Linked DNA regions of Homo sapiens: region 1 is linked to region 2. Evidence: promoter capture Hi-C in 16 types of primary human blood cells and fetal thymus (Javierre and others, 2016). All regions are on one chromosome and are shown on one strand. The core of a region is centred on a gene start or on the middle of the fragment in contact, and the rest is flanking DNA. Distances in the headings are between cores, read along the strand shown. Region 1 overlaps RPL37A (ribosomal protein L37a). Region 2 holds the start of IGFBP2 (insulin like growth factor binding protein 2).

The links. Contacts are between HindIII fragments. The CHiCAGO score rates a contact against its expected background, and 5 or more counts as called.
Region 1: a fragment that was not itself captured here is called in contact with the fragment with the promoter of IGFBP2 in region 2 in 1 of 17 cell types (fetal thymus); the score reaches 5.2 in fetal thymus.

The regions. Positions count from the first base shown.
Region 1 is chr2:216,500,970-216,503,849 of GRCh38, reverse strand. It overlaps RPL37A (ribosomal protein L37a), which reads right to left. Exons shown (of 4, transcript NM_000998.5): 4 at 1-2,509. The coding sequence ends at 2,446. Among named protein-coding and RNA genes, the nearest start is that of RPL37A, 3.6 kb to the right of the region's middle. The HindIII fragment of the contact is 3,211 bases long and covers 1-2,855 here.
Region 2 is chr2:216,631,970-216,634,669 of GRCh38, reverse strand. IGFBP2 (insulin like growth factor binding protein 2) reads right to left here and starts at 1,250. Exons shown (of 4, transcript NM_000597.3): 1 at 705-1,250. The coding sequence starts at 1,146. The HindIII fragment of the contact is 7,523 bases long and covers 1-2,636 here.

The sequences.
Region 1 (2,880 bases), core at 1-2,500, 130 kb after region 2:
TCTTCAGCCCTATCTACATCACCTGCCTCCCTATCATCTTGGGAAAATCACTATTTCCTTAGGTATAAAAATATTTATCTCAGCACTTTCACTGGTCTGTAAACTGTCCCCCGCCCTTTCCTCTTTTAACTGTCATAAAAAAGCAATACATGGCTGGGTGAGGTGGCTTACAGAATCCCAGCACTTTGGGAGGCCAAGGCAGACGTTATCAGTTGAGCCTGGGAGTTTGAGACCAGCCTGGTCAACATGGCGAAAGCCCATCTCTACTAAAAATAAAAAATACAAAAACTAGCTGAGCTTTGTGGCATAAGCCTGTAATCCCAGCTACTTCGGAGGCTGAGGCACGAGAACTGCTTGAACCCGGGAGGTAGAGGCTGCAGTGAACTGAGATCATGCCACTGCACTTCAGCCTGGGTGACAGACACTCTCTCAGAAAACAAACAAAAAGCAGTACTTCACTGATTATAAAAACCGAAGTTTTCCATGCCTAATCATGTAACATAGCAGCTTTGTAAGACTCCAAATTAATAATCCAAACACCCAGCATATACTCCATTCTACTACCAAGAATTATACAGGAAACTGAAGCAGAGAGGTTAAGTCACTTAACCCAAGTCACCCAACTATCTAGGCAGTTTGGCTAAGTTGGTGTTCTTAACCGCAGCATTAGACCATCTAATGCTCATTCAATTCCCTATGCTTACATGAAATCCTGGTCACTCACCTGGAGATCCTATGGAGAATTCTCCAGGAGATTCACCTGGAGAGCTGTGTCATTCCTATGAAGCCTGAAAATCCTGACTTGTCACTCCTGGTCCTACCCCTACTGACCCACAGTACTTGCTTCACATTACAAAATCAGTAGGAGTACCATTTTGTGACACAAATGAGATCCACAGATGAGTTACTGCTATGGATCTAGCAAATGCCTGACCCAGTGAAGTATTCTCCTGGGGTAGCGATGTTTCTGCCAGAGGCAATGCAGGAGGTACAGGTGAAGGGAGACATCCGTGCAAAGGCCAGTAATGAGCAAAAAAACAAGTTATAGAAGATAGGGGTCAGACCAAGTGAAATAAAGGTTTTTACTCTGTCCTAAAGATGAAGTAAATCCACATTCTTATCGAATTAAATTTGCATCCTTAAAGGACTACTGACTCTGGGATAGATAAAAGACATACCAATTAGGAGGACTGAGAAGTCCATACCACAGATGGTTGAGGAGTTAGACTAAATTGGCAGTGAATTAAGTGCATAAAAGTGTCAAAGGCAGGCCTAAAATAACTCGAATTCTCCAAGGCAATTCATTTTTTTGTTACTACAACCATCTGTCAATCTGAAATCAATCCTACGAATCCTTACGTGCAAACTAAAAACTGGAGAATTGCAGACGTTTGCAACATTTAATGTGAAATTAGTTTCATACTGTTTCCTGAAGATGCTGATGGTGTAGGTCAAATGAAACATCATAGAAGAGGCAGTATATGTATATCCTTTAGTATATCTTTTACCTTCAGAAACTTTTTTTTGGAGACAGAGTGTTGTCCTGGCTAAATAAAGTGCAGTGGCACGATCCTGGCCCACTGCAACCTCCGCCTCGTAGGTTCAAGTGATTCTTGTGCCTGAGCCTCCAAAGTAGCTGGGATTACAGGCATGTGCCACCATACCAAGCTATTTTTTGTATTTTTCGTCGAGACGGGTTTTTGCTATGTTGGCCACACTGGTCTCAATCTCCTGGCCTCAAGTAATCCACCTGCCTCAGCCACCCAAAGTGCTGGGATTTCAGGCGTGAGTCACCGCACCCAGCCTAGACACATTATAAAAATATTAAATGCAAGGCTGGGCGTGGTGGCTCACACCTGTAATCCCAGCACTCTGGAAGGCCAAGGCAGGTGGATCGCTTGAGGTCAGTTCAAGAACAGCCTGGCCAATGTGGTGAAAACTCCATCTCTACTCAAAATACAAAAATTAGCCAGGTATGGTGGTGCGTGCCTGTAATCCCAGCTACTCAGGAGGCTGAGGCAGGAGAATCGCTTGAACCTAAGAAGTGGAGGTTGAAGTGGGCCAAGACTGGTATACTGCACTCCAGCCTGGGTAACAGAGACTCCGCCTCAAAAACAAACAAAAAAACTAACTGTAATTTAAAAACTAAAGTTTACAGTTGGCTCCAATGTATCTCAAAGTCAAACTGGCAGGAGCAGACTTATAAAAAGCTAACACTCATATCTAACTTGGAAGACTTATATTCTTATGCTGCATTTTACCATTTGACTACTAAAAAAGACACTGAATTACAATAATCCATCTTGGCATGCTTTTCCAATACAACAGTATTTACACAATGCAAACATCAGAATGTCTAATAAAGTTAACAAGCCAAGGCAATTTTGTTACATAAATTAACCCATTTATTATAGGCCAGTGATGTCTCAAAGAGTAGAGGAGCGTCTACTGGTCTTTCAACTCCTTCAGTCTTCTGATGGCGGACTTTACCGTGACAGCGGAAGTGGTACTGGAAAGAAAGATTCAGTTTCCAACATAATTAAGCATGTTAACATAGAAAATGGCAAATAAGTAAATCTGCCTCGTTTTTGTGTTAAAGTCGCTTCCCAAATTTTCCTAGAAAGAATTATACTGAGATAGACTGCTCTACCAATACTTTGCTGCAGTCAATCCAAAGATCTAACCAACATTAGATTACTCCTCGGAAATTAGTGGCTTCTAAACTACATGATGGCATCCTTTAAGAGCCATGCCTTCAGGATCTTGCAGAATTAGACATACAATCTCATGCATCTGATTTCTCAACCAGAGTTGCTTTTTTTTTTATAAGTAACTCAGTTGTGGACAAGCAAGCTTTAACTCCCCCTACCCCATCCCATG
Region 2 (2,700 bases), core at 1-2,500:
CGGCGATCGGGCTTAAGTTACATTGATTCAGCTGCTAGGAGACCCCTCGCCTACCAAATGCCTCCCTTTTATTTTTCCATTCAACGTGGTAGCAAGAGCCCTGCTCGTTCCCTATGGAGAAATAGTAGTGGTGGTTTTCATTTTTCTCCTAAGCGACTCATCCTACAAAGTACCAAGTCCTTTCTTTCCAACTCACAACCCCAGTAGAAGGAAGGGCCCCTTGGGACGCCGGTGCCTCCTCCTAGCTCCCTCTCCTCTTCCAAGGTTCCTGGTGTCACTGGCACCCCGCAGCCTCCGCCTCCCAGCAGCGATCCCACCAGGACCCTTGGGTCCTCAAGCAGTGCCCCAAATAAGATTCGAGTTCCTACTCCCATGGATCTGACCACCGGCCCCCTTCTCAGCAAATCCCTCCTCCAGAATAGAAGTCTGGGTCCGTTCCACGCGGGTAAAACTATGGCAGCAGGGATGCCTTTCCTCTCCCCATTCATCCCCACCAAATGAGTCGCCAGGGCTCTTCCACTTGCTCTAACTCCAGTTCCCCTCCCCGGGCCTGACTTCCGCGTCCCGCTAGCAACAGTCCCCCTTGATTTGGTCCAAGGTCTCGGCTCTGCCGCCCCTAAAACCGTCCGTAAGGTCCAGCCGCCCGTCGGGCTTCTCCGCTGCCCTCCAAGTTTCTCCCAACTACTTGTTCCAGACCGCGTTACCTGCAACCTGCTCCGGGCTGGCGCCATACTCGGCGTCCCGGCGCTTCTCACAAGTGCCCTCGCCCATGACCAGCGCCTGCAGGGGCAGCTCGGAGCCCGGGTGGGGATAGCAGCGCAGCCCCTGGCCGCAGCGCGGGGTGTAGACGCCGCACGCCTCGCCCTCCAGCCGGGCGCACACCGAGCAGCAGCCGCAGCCCGGCTCCCGGACGAGCTCCGCGCATGGCATGCGGGCGCCTCCGGCCACTGCGGCCACCGCGGCGGGCGGCGCAACCGGCGGGGGCCCGCAGGCGGCCAGGCGCTCGGGTGTGCAGGGCGGGCAGCGGAACAGCACCTCCGCGCGCGCCCCGCCGCCGCCGCCACTCGCGCCCAGTAGCAGCAGCAGCAGCGGCAGCAGCGGCGGCGGCGGCAGCGGCAGCGCGGGGCAGCCCACTCTCGGCAGCATGCTGGCGGTCGGCAGCGCGGCGCGGCGGGCGAGCGAGCGAGCGGGCGGGCGGGCAGGTGGCACGGCCCTGCGAGCGCGGGAGCCGCCTCCTCCGCTTCTTCCTCCTCCCTCGCCGCCGCAGCCGGGTCCTAAAGGGCCGGCTTCTCCCCGCCCCCTGCCTTCTCCCCTCCCCCTTTTGGAGACCACTCCCTTCCCCCCCGACACTCCCTCGCGCCGGCAAGTGAGTGCGCGCACGCCCGCTCGCCCACCTCCGCGTTGGCTGCGGGCTCTGGGGGTTCCCTGCTCTTCCCGGGCCCCGTCCCTCCGCACTCTTCTGGCCTGACTATGACTCCTGAAGGAGAATACGGATAACTCGCGGGTTTGGGTAGGACCGGCGTGGCGGTGGAGAAGAGCGCGTGCTTTTGTCTGCTCTCAGTTCAGTTCGCGAGGACTTCGTTTGCGCGCTTCCCCTGTGGCCGGCACTGGGCTAACCGCTGGGGAACACAAAAGACATAAGGCTCCGTTTTGACCTTCAAGTAGATTTCAGTCGGCTCATACCAACTCCTTCCATCCTGGGGTATCACCCACCACTGACACGTGGCTTGGAACAATGACTTCTTGTTGGGTGGGTCCTGCGGAGTTTCAGACCCGTCTAGACCAAGCTAGACCCAAACAGCCCCGAATGGTCTTAGTGACTATTGCAGTTTTCCAAACCTGGGAGCTCGTGACTACAACCTATGAGAACCCTAAGTGCCCCGCAAAACCTGCCCCCTTCGTCTGCAGACCCCCTCCCTTCTCCGCCCGCTAAAATAATCCCTTAGCACCCTGGGCCCCCACCTACAAATCTCGAGGCACTTGTTGCAGGACAGATCCCAGAACACTCAGTTGCAGGGGTCTTGGAGAGGTCAGATCAGCTCTCCAGGTGTGACAGACCCGCTCTGGGGTAAGGCCATTTATGGCTGTCTTCAATAATGCAGATGGACAAGCATGACCTCCTTTCATTGTTCTGTTTGATTTACTGAGTCATCTACCCAAGCTGCCCCCAACCCCCATCATTCCAGGCTGGACTCAGCCATAATCAACCATCTCCTGGGGTGTGACCCTAACAAAGACCCCTGTCAGAGAGATTCCTTGGGTGACAGGTGGACCATTAAGCTGCCTCCACCGCAGGTTTCATCTCCCTATACCTCAGCGCCCCTCTTCCCCCCAGACCCCTCCACTCTGGCTCTTTCTGACTTCAAGGCTCAGAGCCTGTTTGATTCAGTTCAACAGCTAGTTAACCCAATGGCCACCTGGCTCTGAAGGTGACCTAGATGCCTCCAGGAAGGCAAGTACCTGGTCTTAAGACGCCAAGCTGGGAAGAGTTATCGGGAAAGACTTTGGTAAGATAAAAAATAAATAAATAAATGTTTATCAGAGGCTTTGAAGAAAAGAAATATTTTGGTAGAGAGGTGATGTGGTGGTTGAGGAAAGGGGAGTTTCTTGGGTGAGTCGGAGCTGAAATTGAAGCTTGTAATTCTACCAGAGGAAATGGGCGGTTAGCAAGGGCACAGGCAGAGGGACCACCTGAAGCAA